Regions from separate parts of the Homo sapiens genome. Here all the other regions are linked to region 2. Evidence: promoter capture Hi-C in human tissues and cell types (Jung and others, 2019). All regions are on one chromosome and are shown on one strand. The core of a region is centred on a gene start or on the middle of the fragment in contact, and the rest is flanking DNA. Distances in the headings are between cores, read along the strand shown.

Region 1 (4,541 bases), core at 963-3,462, 63 kb before region 2:
AGCCAAGAGAGATTGGGGTCCTATTTTCAGCGTTTTTAAGAAAAGAAATTCCAGCCAAGAATTTCATATCTTTCTAAATCAAGTTGCGTAAGCCAAGAAGATATAAAGTTTTTCTCAAGAAAAGCAAGTGCTAAGAGAATTCATTATCATTAGACTAGCCTTACCAGAGATCCTTAAGGAAATCCAACATGGAAACAAAAGAATGATACCTGCTATTATAAAACCCACTTAAATACATAGCTCACCAAAAGTATAAAACAACCACACAATAGAAACTACAAAGCAGTCAGCTAACAATTTCATGATAGAATAAAGATCTCACATATCAACATTAACCGTGAATCCAAATGGTCCAAAGGGTCCATTTCAAAAGAACTGAGTGGCAAGTTTGAATGAGTAAACAAGATCCATCTATCTACTGTCTTCAAGAGACCCATCTCACACATAATGACATCCACAGGCTCAAAAGAATACATTTGAGAAAGATCTACCACACAAATGGAAGGCAAAAAAGAGCAGAGATCAGTATTTTATATCAGATAAAACAAACTGTAAACCAACAACAATAAAAAAGAACAAAGAAAGACATTACATAATGATAAAGTGCTCAATTTGACAAGATGACTTAACTATTCTAGAGCAATCAGGCTAAAGAAAGAAATAAAGTGCATCCAAGTAGAAAAATAATAGGTGAAATTATTTATCTTTGCTAATGATATAATTCTATACCTAAAAAACCTTAATGATGCTAGCAAAAGGCTCCTGAAACTGTGAAACAACTTTAGTAAAGTTTTGGTATACAAAATCAATGTCCCCAAATCAGTAACATTTCTATACACCAACAATGTCCAGGCTGAGGGCCAACTCAAGTGCAAAACCCGATTTACAATAGCCACACATACCAAAAAAAAAAAAAAAAGGTACCTAAGAATACTAAGGAGGTGAAGAATCTCTACAAGGAGAATTAGAAAACAATGCTGAAAGAAATCACAGATGTCACAAATTAATGGAAAAATATCTGATGCTCATGGATTGGTTGAATTCATATCATGAAAATGACCATACTGTCCAAAACAATTTACAGATTCATTGCTATTCCTATCAAACTACCAATGTCATTTTTTCACAGAATTAGAAAAGGCTATTTTAAAATACATACAGAAACAAAAGAAAGCACAAATGCCAACGCAGTCCTAAACAAAAAGAACAAAGCCATAGGTGTCACATTACCCAACTTCAAACAATGCTATCAGGCTTCAATAACCAAAACAGCATGGTAGTGCTGAAAAAAAAAAAAAAAAACCAGACACACAGAGCAATGGAACAGAATAGAGAACCCAGAAATAAAGCAGCACACCTGCAGCCACCTGATCTTTGACAGAGTCAACAAAAATAAGCAATGGGGAAAGGATTCCACATTCAATAAATGGTGCTGAGAAAGCTGGCTAGTCATATGCAGAAGAGTGAAATTGGATCCCTACCTTTCACTATACACAGAAATTAACTCAAAATGGATTAAGGATTTAAATGTAAGACATCAAGTTATATGAATCCTAGAAGAAAACCTCGGAACCCCTCTCTGGACATTGACCTTAGGAAGGAGTTTATGACTAAGCCTACAACAAAACCAAAATTTGACAAGTGGGGCCTAAAGAGCTTCCGCACAGCAAAAGAAACTATCAATAGAGTAAACAGGCAACCAACAGACTAGGAGAAAATATTCACAAACTATGTGTCTAACAAAGGTATAATATTCAGAATCTATAAGAAACTTAATTCAACAAACAAAAAACACATAACCCCATTAAAAAGTGGGCAAAAGACACTTCCTAACAAAGTCAAAAGAAGACACACAAGTGGACCAAAAAAAATGAAAAAATGACCAGTATCACTAGTTATCAGAGAAATACAAATCAAAACCACAATGAGATATTCTCTAGCACCAGTCAGAATGGCCATTATTAAGAAGTAAAAAAATAACAGATGCTGGTGAGACTGGGGCGAAAAATGAACACTTGCACACTTTTGATGGGAATGTAAATTATTTCAGCAACTGTGGAAAGCAGTCTGGATATTCATCAAAGAACTGAGAGTTAAACTACCATTTGATTCAGAAATCCCGTTACTGGGTATATGTCCAAAAAAAAAAAATTGTAATACCAAAAAGACACATGCACTAGTGTGTTCATTACAGCACTATTCACGATATCAAAGATATAGAATCAACCTAGGTGACCATCAATGGCAGATTTAAAAAAATGTGGTACATAGACACCATGGAGTACTGCACAGCCATAAAAGAGAACAAAATTACGTCCTTTTGCAGAAACATGCATGTGTGTGACGGCCATATTCCTAAGCAAAACATCACAGGAACAGAAAACCAAATACTGCATGATCTCACTTATAAGTGAGAGCTAAGAATTGAATACATATGATTGTAAAGAGGGGAACAATAGACACTGGTAACTCCAAAAGGAGAGAGGGAGGTGGCCAAATCCTGAAAACTACCTATTGGGTAATATGCTCACTATCTTGGGGTATTCATTCACACCCCAAACCTCAGCCTCACACAATACACCCATGCCATGTGACAAACCTGCACATGTGTCCCCTGAATCTAAAGTAAAATTATTCTTTAAAAATACACATTTTACAATGATGGCTCTTTTGAAAATAGATGGGAGGATAGATGAAGGATGGAATGATGGTGATGAGAAAGGAGGCTGTGGCAGTAATGTAAGCACTGAATGATGCTGGCTCCTACATCAGAGGTCTGATTCTGAATATGCTTTCAAGAGAAAGTGAATTTGCTGATAAATTGGATGCAGTGTGAGGGAAAACGAGAATTCAAGGATAATTTCAAGTATTTGACTTTGAGCACTTAGAAGAATGAAGTTGATGTCAACTGAGATGGAATATGCTTTAAGTGAAGCAGGTTTTGAGGAGTACAATTAGGAACTTCATTTTGCAGCTGTTGAATTTATGTCTGTTGAGAAGACATAAATTCAAGAAAAGCTGTTGAATACATAATTGCATATACAAATCTGGATTTCAAAAAAGAAATCTGGGCCTGAGATATAAATATTGGAGTGATAATCATTGCAATGTTACTTAGAACCATAAAACCCACTAAAAAGTTTCTCAAAATTTTTTTATTAGAAAAAAAAAAATGGCAAAAAACTGGAACACCTTAACTTGAAGAGGCAGTTGGACAGAAGAAAAGGAACTAGCAAAAGAGACAGAAAAGACTAAATGAGAAAAATAGAAAACTACAAGATGGAAGTGCTCTGATGGCAAATTAAAGATTGTGTATTAAAAAAGTAAATAAACGAGATCAAGTAGGTCCAGTAGGATCATATTGGGTCAGTGAGTTGAGCAATGTGGGATTATTTTGACTTGATAATAGTAGTACTCGTGGAGGGATGGGAAAAAAAGCCTGACAAAGAGTGTGTTTAAAAGGAAATGGATACACTATTTTATAAAATAAAATGTGTAACTCAGTAAGATAATGTTGATTCAAGGAATGCATACAAATGGAGTACATACTATATGACTCCTTTTATGTAAAAAAAAAACAAAAACAAAACAACAACAAATAAAACAAACACACACCAGCAATCTATGGTGTTAGGACCCAGAAAAATTGACAATGTGAGGCAGTCGTTCTTGGAACCAGATAAAAGAGAGATCTTTGGGATGCTGGTAATGTTATGTTCTGAGTACTATTTTCATGCGTGTGTTCAATTTGTAAAAAATCCTCAAGCTATACACTTATGATATGTCCACTTTTCCTTTTTAAAATCAAGAAAATATAAACAATAACTGGAGACATAAATATAGAAAGCTCTTTAAAGAAACTGGTTGTGAATGGAAGCAAATAAATTAAGTGGTAGCTCATAGGGAAATGGAAGCAAGCTTTGGTTTTGTTGTTTGTTCTGATTTTGTTTTTGTTTTATTTGTGGAGGAAATAGGATGTTTCTTTGTCATTGGGACAATACAGTTAAAAAGGAAAAAAATTAACTATATAGGAGAAAGAGAAAAAAAACTGGTTGAAGACATAGATGTTTTGGTGGAGGTGAGAAAAGATCATACACAGAAGAGAAGAGAGTGGTTTTAGGTAGGAACGTGGATAGTTATGGATGGTAATAAGTGAAAGGCAGTTTAAGAATAACAGAGGCATGTAAAAGAATTCTTTAAAATACATTGGCTTTCCCAGTGAAATAGAATGCAATGTCAACAACAGAGAAAGAGGCTATGCAGGAGGTGATAAAGGTATGAAGAGAGAGAAAAGTAAGCAATGGTCAGCTAAGACAGTGGTAGAAAGAATAGTCTGTAGAAATAGAGTGTTATTGCCAGGCAATATTGAAGTATCACTTAAATTTTGGTGTCATTAATTTGAAAGCAAAATTAAGCAGCATGGTAGTTTGTCTTACTCCTGCAATTCACCTATAGAGATGCAGATATGGATCGGTGGTAAGCAAGACTATATGCTGGCTCTGCCATGAAAAGCAAAGTCAGTAAAGGCAAAATAGAGAAGG
Region 2 (4,293 bases), core at 125-2,624:
ATCATTCTCAGCAAACTATCGCAAGGACCGAAAACCAAACATCGCATGTTCTCACTCACAGGTGGGAATTGAACAGTGAGAACACATGGACACAGGAAGGGGAACATCACACACCGGGGCCTGTTGTGGGGTGGGGGGAGAGGGGAGGGATAGCATTAGGAGATGTACCTAATGTAAATGATGAGTTAATGGGTGCAGCACACCAACATGGCAGATGTATACATATGTAACAAACCTGCACGTTGTGCACATGTACCGTAGAACTTAGAGTATAATAAAAAAAATTTTTTTAATCTTCTTTGATAGTGTTAATAACTTAATTTTTTGTATTAAAGTTTTTCTAAATGCTCACGACAAACATTAGAAAAAACTTAGGAAACATACAGTTTAATTTAAAAATATTAATCATATTCACACATCTTTTCTGCAAAACGACAACTTAAATAATGGTAGCTTTTTTCAACTCCAAACACTAAGAAAACTACAACAACAAAACCACTCCTCTTTGTCAAATAAGGAAAACTCAAACTTTTGGCAGTCTGCAAACTGTGAGGTTGACTTTATAATTTTTCATCACAAGGTATACCTCCTGAAGCCTCTTAACTATTTTCAGAAAAAGACAGTGTTGCTGATAATGCAATATATCCTGCATGTTCAACCTTTGTGAATCATACCATGTAGGGCAATTGACTTGGTGAGCAAAATCTCCATGGTCACCTGGGTAGCTGCATTTAGAAATAGGAGCTGTCCAGTCAAGGTTACAGCACTTGTTTTCTTTCCTTAGAATTCAATGCAGTTAAATATCATCTGTAAATTTTGATTAGCTTTGCAAGGCTATTGAAGGTTTGTATATTCCAATGCCTCTGATTAATCAAATTCAATTAAAAATGAAAATAAAGATTTATTTATATAATAGTAGGGAATATATCCTCTTCTTATTTATTTTGAGTTGAAGAGATGGAGATAAATCCAATAGAAAAATAACAATAATAATGTTCAAACATTTTCAACATGTAAAGAATTGTATTTAGAACTATCAAAAATTTATACAATAGGATGTTTTATCACAGAATCTGGAAAGGAGACTTCTAGAAATTGAGAAATACAGGATATTTCTGATATAAGACTGAATGCAAATGTGTATATTCTAAGAAATACAAAAACAACTTGGTAAAAAAAAAAAAGACACTTAAAATGAGTGCTGTGTGCTTTCCTTTCTGGTTTTTATTATTTTTAAATTGTTCCTTCAGCCACCAAAGTTATATGATGGTTTCTGAACAGCGTTTACTTTTGTGACAGTTTCATCTCACTCTGTTGTCCAAACTGATAAAGTCCAGAAGTCTAGAAACAGCAAGGGACTCCCTTCCTCTGTTATATGTAAGCTGACAAGAGGCAGACAAACACGTTCTGAAGTTTTGTGCATGCTGCGTTTTCTCTCCTTGCTGCAACAAGAAAAGCCTTTGTTTTCCAACCTGGCAACCTTTGAAGAAGTGACTCAGACATCTTCATGGCCTCTAAAGGTAAGAGTAAATATAACCAACTAATAACTTTTTCTTATATTAAGACTAAAAATATACAATTGTGGATGTGTTACAACCAGTTAGATTGGTACTTTAAAAGCTGTCATTTGTCACTTTTGAACATTGTGATTTTAAAATCTTAACTCCCAGGAGCATGTTGAGTTACATGTAAAAACACTTTATCTGACAGACTGTAAAAGTTCAGATGTAAACGATGTTTTAGTTATCATGAATACAAACATAGTGAATTAATAAGAAAAGCTGCATAGCAAAGTTTAGAATGGGAATCTTCAATGTTAAACACAAGGACAGGGTGATATTTTAAGTTTAAAAGGATTTGAAGAAAACTTTTCACACATAAGTTAGAAAGTGTTAAAGTGCAATTTAATAATTTTTTTAATTAAAATATTAAAAATTTATGTGGGTACATAGTAGGTATATATACTTATGGGATACATGAGATGTCTTCATACAAGCAGGCAATGTGAATTAAGGACATAAAGGGGAATGGGATATCCATCCCATCAAGCATTCAGCCTTTGAGTTACAGACAATCCAGTTACACTCTCTAAGTTTTATTTTCCCATTTGTTATTCAAATTATGTGATATAGCCATTTATTATAAAGAATCTGACATGCGTTATTATTGATTCTTAAATGTGATGGGCTAGAAATAAGTATTTCTGAATTATAAAGCAAAAATATCTTGAAATTTCCTTATGGTAAATTAAAGATAGAAAACAAACAGAAAATATCTGCTTTAAGCGCACAGATCACTTAGCAGACTTTTGGGGAGTAGGACTGATGAGTTTTTTCTCAAATTCCTAAAACTGCAAAAATATCATTACGTTATCTTACTTTAAAGAAGGTCTAAAAAGACAAGAGATGTAGTTGTTTTTAAAGTAAGTTGCAATCTCACTAAAAACACTTGTGAAACTGTGTAAGAAATAAAATTATAATGTGCTTTCATTTCATTGTCAGAATGAACCACTAAAGCCTAGGCTATAATGAAAAGTTTTAGCATGAAGAATTATAATTAGTATAATTGGTGAAAACCTTTTAAATTAATTACAAATAGGATAATAGGGCTCATCAATTTGTAATATCCTAAATTAGTGATCCATTCAAACAAATGTGTATGCTTACTTGCTTCCTTTATCAAAACACACTTTTGGTCACTATTTAATATGAAACAAATGAGATAATCTTTCCATTTTTTATCAATCTTTAATGTAGACCAGTCCCTCAGTCCCTCAGAATCACTGAGAAAGCTCACACAAATTGTAAAACATAGATGTGAAATAGCAAAATCATGAATTTAACATATGTGTCATTTTTTTCTATCTGAAGACAAATAAACAAAAAACCTTGACAAATATTTCCTTTCATTTAAGACTGACACTACTATTTAGTCCAAAATACTTCATCACTTTATAAAATAAGAGTTACAGCAATACTGTAGACTGTAAGGTAAAAAGTTGCAGAGTGTATAAAATATTTATAAGCTAGTTATACATTTTTAAAAGAGTAGATAGAAATTCAAAGCCAGTACGAAATTCAAAGGAGTTCCTTCTTCATCTGGTTGTCTGAGTCTTTGAAGAAACTTGTGACTGGAAAGTAATATTATGTCAAAATATGATTAATCTAACAGGAAGCAGTGATGTTCCATAATGATAAAGACCCAAGTCTAAACTTAGAAGCAAAACTTCAGGTGGAAAACTGACCCTCCTTCTGCAACCGGCTCAAAATATTTAATGCATGGAAGGATAAAACACCTATTAGAGACTTCATACTACCTAGGAGAATATAAGTGATAATGAAGCTTTCTTGTGAATTAGATATCTTGTTTAAGAGGGCAAGTCAAATTATCACCATTATCTAAGTAAAACATTTTTGTGGATAGTTTTCTTCAGCTGTATATAAACACATTATTTATAACATCATGTTTTCTTGTCCAGTAACTATATTGGCAATTAGCATTTTCCCAGGGAATGCAGACTAATTGTACATTTCACATATTTCATAGGCAGATCAATCAGCACTACTAAACCAAAAGACAGTCTAAATACCAGGTGCCATTAGAACTGAAGAGACATTTGTGTGAGCTGGAGCATCCTGGCTTAGTAGAAATTAACACAATTTAAGAGCAAGTTGCTCTCAAACACGGTGATCTGAACTGAGCAAGAGCTGTCTCCAAAGGTTGCTTCAATGTGAACTAAAATCCCAGAAGAAGCAGCTAGTGATCTCAGAATAGTGATGTCTCTCAACAGTCTCAGGCAGAGACTCACTCACACTCTACTCCTAAATAAAGACTTTGGACACAATATCCTCTGAGCTCCAAGTGCATTAATGCTTCTGGACTTGCTGTGAAGTCTAAGGCCCTCCAGGACTGGGCGGGAATGTACAGCTACTTGCCAAACCCTCCATAACCTACTGCATTTTGTTACAGCAAACATAATTTACAAGATAAAATTGGGGTAATTTGTGAATCCCTTTAACAATTAAGTTTACAATGAGAGAGAATCTAAAAATCTTATACTAGCTATTGTTAGAAATTAATCCCTACACATGGTTTTTAATTGAGAGATAATATGTGCAGTGAAGTACATAGAGCACAAAACCTAGGCTCCATGATTTTTAAAATAAGGACCCATTCATGACCACCACCAAGATCAAGATATAGACATTTCTAGATTCTATAATGTTCTCTTTCTAGCCAATAGCCATGCATCCTCCCTTTCCCAAGATGGACCACTATTCTGGATTTTATCAT
Region 3 (4,403 bases), core at 1,442-3,941, 46 kb before region 2:
CTGTATTTTTGAAATATAAAAGCTGAGTACTTAAAACAGTTTCTTAAAATGTAATTTAATTAATTTGAATGAACACACATGTAAAAGAAATTATACATAATCAAAATCCTGGAGAAGAAAGGCAGTATAGTATACCATAGTGCTTCTCACCAGGTGGTCCCTGAACCAGTGGCATCAGCAACACTCGGAAACTGGTTAGAAATGCAAATTCTCAGGCACCACCCCCGACCTAGTGCATCAGAAACTCTGGGTTTGAGACACACCAATTTGTATTTTAACAAGCTCTCCAGGTGATTCTGGTGCACTCTGTAGTTTGAGAATCATTAGGAAACTGGTTAATAGTACTTACTCCGGAGCCAGACTGGCAGTTCAAGCTTAACTTTGCTACCAGTTAGCTGAATGACTTTAGTCAAGATACTTTAACTTATTGTTCTATAAAATGGGGCAAAATAGTACTGTCCCATAATATTGTGGGGATTAAATGAATTAATATGTGGAAAAAACCTAGGCCATTTTTTGATACAGAGAAAAGACTCTGTAAATATTAGAAATTGTTGTTATGAATATGAGGTGAGGCCAAGTTCCACTGAAATGAGTGACTTGGTCAAGGTTATACAACTAGTCTCACTTAAGGAATTAACCCACAGTTTTCCCCCACTCATAAGCAGTGTCCGTTTCACATCCATGGAATTCTTGAAAATAGCCACATTTTCTCTAAATGACCAAGTAGTAGACTAATAACATATACATACAGTAATTTTATAATATATATTTCTTGGTCTGAATCTTTATTTTGCATTTTTAATGGTGAGTACTGAAAAGGCCATCAACACCCTTTTCACGAAGCTTTTCATCTCTCTTTTTTTTAACATAGTGATAACCACCAATTACTTTTATTTCATAATCAGTATAACAGGCATGTGCCAGAAATTGCAGAAAGTTTATTGGATGGAAGATAATAAGATCAACATTTACTGTAATAGCAAATAGAAAACTATAGCTTCTAATTTACATCAGCAGGAAAAGAATCAGGTGTCTCTTATAGAATACATTATGCAATTTGGGGAAAGAAAACAAGGAAAACATAAAAACAAGCTTGCATTAATATAGTATTAGGTGCTTTCACAAATAAATCTAAAATTAAGCAATAGCTAAATTGCAATAGACGTGTACTCCTAAATCATGTAGTCATCCCCTGCCGGAGTTCCTGAACCACTGGCAGATTTTCTCCATGGGTGAATTAGGCAAAAAAAAAGTCTCCCTCTATCCTGTGGCTCCAGTATCTTGAAAGGCCTTGTTGTAATCTTCACTCTTTTGGCAAAAGTGGAAAAGAACACGAAGTAGGCACATCCATTGTTAAAAGCCACCACTCAGAACAGACACATCATTAATCCTCTCACATTCCCTCATCCAGGACAGTCATCTGGCCACACCTAACCACAGGGAAGCTGGGAATATGGGTGGGCTCTGTGCTCACTACAACTAACCACACACAAGACATTCACTTATCTGATGCTGAATGTAGTGTCAGATAGGTAATAAGTAAATAATAAATTTAAATATGAAAGTTGGAATTTTTTTTCCTTATTTGTGTAGGTAAATCAGAATATCATGCTTGAAATTCTTTATCCAGTAACATGAGAAGAAAAGCTGTTACCACAGAGGACTATTGTGAGAATTAAATGAGAATGTGTATTATTTTAGTTTAACCTAGTATCGGCATAGTAAAGAGTCAACAATCTTATACACATATATCTAAAAAAGAAAAAAATACTTAGAGAAAAGAAAAGCAAAGAGCAGTAAAGGAAATACGGCCTAAGTTTAAGAATTTACAGCAAAACAATTTTGGATATTTTAATATTTATCATAATTTCTTTAAAATCACTTTATTTTAATTATGGGCTCCTTTAGGTCTTAGGGGACTCTAAGCCATTAAATCTTATTAACATTTTAATTAGAGAAAACTCAATTTCAACTTAGTGCATATAGTTTTCATTTCTCTAGTTTATAAGTTGTTTATGGCTTCAGTCCTTATGTCTATGACCGAAAGGCTATATCACAAAGAGCACTTATCTCTATTTCTACACTGGAATGAGCGCAAAATGCACGAGCACAAATGTAAGTACCGAATCCAAATTACTTTTGTAAGAAAGCTGTTTTTTTGTTTGCATGTTTTTTTGTTTTTGCTTTTTAAGACAGAGTCTCGCTCTGTCGCCTGGGCTAGAGTGGAGTGCAGTGGCCCGATCTTGGCTCACTGCAACTTCCACCTCCAGGGTTCAAGCAATTCTCCTGCCTCAGCATCCCCAGCAGCTGGAACTATAGGCTCATGCCGCCAAGCCCAGCTAATTTTTTGTATTTTAGTAGAGACAAGGTTTCACCGTGTTTCCCAGGCTGGTCTCGAACTCCTGAGCTCAGGCAAGCTGCCCACCTCAGCCTCCCAAAGTGGGAAAGCTGTTTTTAAAAAGCTGTTACTCCTTATTCAATTCAGTGATTTAGTATCGTTATAACATATATTTCTTCCAAAGCAAACCTTCAGTGTACTAATAAATGTGTGAATTAAGTGTAATTATTTGTCAATTAAAGGAGAAGGAGCAGAACATTCAGTTATTGTAGGGAGAATATGCCACTCAGTCTAAGCTAGCTACTGAACACCTCAGTAATACAGTGTACATAAGACCCTCACAGAGCATAGATGTCAATACTTCCAACCAGGTAACTTTAATTCTCATCCTTAAGGTCAGACGCCTTGATATTTGTACCAGAGATTCTATTAACGTTCAATATTAAATTACTAAAATATTCCTGGCAAAGCCAACATAATAGTGAATATTATAATTGTAAGTCAATGGCAATAAAATGTAAAAGAATAATTTGACCTAGCTAGAAAGTCTAAGTGTATAAAATAGATGAGAAAAAACTGTAAAATATTTTAAAATCCTATTAGGAGAAATCCTTGCTTAGAGAATCTTGAAGCTTTGTTTGTTTTGTCTATTCATTTTGAAATTCTGCCTGAAACAGCAAAACAATTCTCAAGAGAAAATAGGAAATATGTAACATTTGAACTAAAATAGCCACTTCAGAATACATGACTCCTTTTGCTATTCTGATAGCTCAGTACATTTCCACATAGAGTTCACACCCTAAAACATGGAGGAAATAAGAATGTCACAGAATAAAGGAGGATACAAAGCTTCACAGAATGAATGACTGGTAAAGATCAGTGGGGAAGAAGGTTCAACTGTCCTGCATATGCACTGGATTTAGATACACACTTCATCCCCTTTCTTGCCTTTTCCACTGGGCTTGTGGATTAGCAAGAATATACCCAAAGATGTGATATACCATGTGAACTCAAAGTGGCAAATAGCATACAGGGCAAATCGGGAAGCTACTTTAATTTTGATTTGGAATTCTCTAATACCCCACCCCCATCAAACACACACACACATTCAGGATCTTTCTATTCTTTGCTAACATTGCTCAACACACTTCCAAATTGGCCTCCATGGTAACTAAACTCTTTTAGGGCATTAGGCCAGCATTATGCAAAATAATAGTAATAAATGCACAAGCAACTCAGATAATAGTCGTTCAGTAAATGATAGCTCCTACCTCTCTTTACAGAAATATTTGCACTATCATAAAAGGATCTGAAACACTATTTTCAAGCCTACAACCCTAAGAAATAAAATTCTAATTATAAAATCAGATTTCATAACAGGTGCTTGGGGACAGATCTGGTGGCAACATGTCTTAAGAGGTCAGACCACATCAATTGTTACCTGCTTATGCACAGAGATTTCCCTTAAATCAGTGCTTTGGGAATTACTGTAGTCAAGAACCAAGAATTCTCACTCCCAGTCCCCACCAGGGCAATAATTTTGTAAAATATTTGCACCATGAACTTTCATTTCACGGCACTCTCAACTTCTGTACTTATTCTGGAAGAGAAACAATTTAAGGATGGGGCACCAGTCCCCAGACCATGTGGAATTAGCATCATTTTAAATCCTCTTAGCTGTATTAGTTTCCAAGACACTTTCTGAGGAAATTAGTAGTGCCTGAACTTTTAATTATTCTTAATTGCATTAATTGTCAGCAGAAAGTAAATGTAGTGTCTTTGCTATTTTAAGTAACAGGGTTTGCAATTCTATAAACAATAAAGTGGAGTACATGAGCAAGCTGGGAAAGAACTCATTTTAAAAAGTCTTAGATGTCAGTTCTAATCAGAATTGACCCTCTTACGGCTGTTTTCTGGCAGCTAACTCAATAGCCTGCCAATCCAAGAGATTTTCTTGACCAGGTACAGCTATAGCTTCCAGAGTTCAAAAAATCAATGGTCATTTTCGAAAGAGCAAGTAGGTCGGTAGACTGGGAATGAGAGATATGTGTACATTTTGATT

The links. Contacts are between HindIII fragments. The study calls those that stand out against the background at their distance.
Region 1: a contact is called between a fragment that was not itself captured here and the fragment with the promoter of PLSCR5 in region 2, in 2 of the 25 tissues and cell types used here (aorta and hippocampus).
Region 3: a contact is called between a fragment that was not itself captured here and the fragment with the promoter of PLSCR5 in region 2, in 1 of the 25 tissues and cell types used here (hippocampus).

What each region holds. Positions count from the first base shown.
Region 1 is chr3:146,666,154-146,670,694 of GRCh38, reverse strand. No RefSeq gene overlaps it. Among named protein-coding and RNA genes, the nearest start is that of PLSCR5, 63 kb to the right of the region's middle. The HindIII fragment of the contact is 6,463 bases long and covers 1-4,541 here.
Region 2 is chr3:146,602,427-146,606,719 of GRCh38, reverse strand. PLSCR5 (phospholipid scramblase family member 5) reads left to right here and starts at 1,374. Exons shown (of 8, transcript NM_001085420.2): 1 at 1,374-1,520. The coding sequence starts at 1,508. The HindIII fragment of the contact is 14,045 bases long and covers 1-4,293 here.
Region 3 is chr3:146,649,963-146,654,365 of GRCh38, reverse strand. No RefSeq gene overlaps it. Among named protein-coding and RNA genes, the nearest start is that of PLSCR5, 47 kb to the right of the region's middle. The HindIII fragment of the contact is 3,439 bases long and covers 972-4,403 here.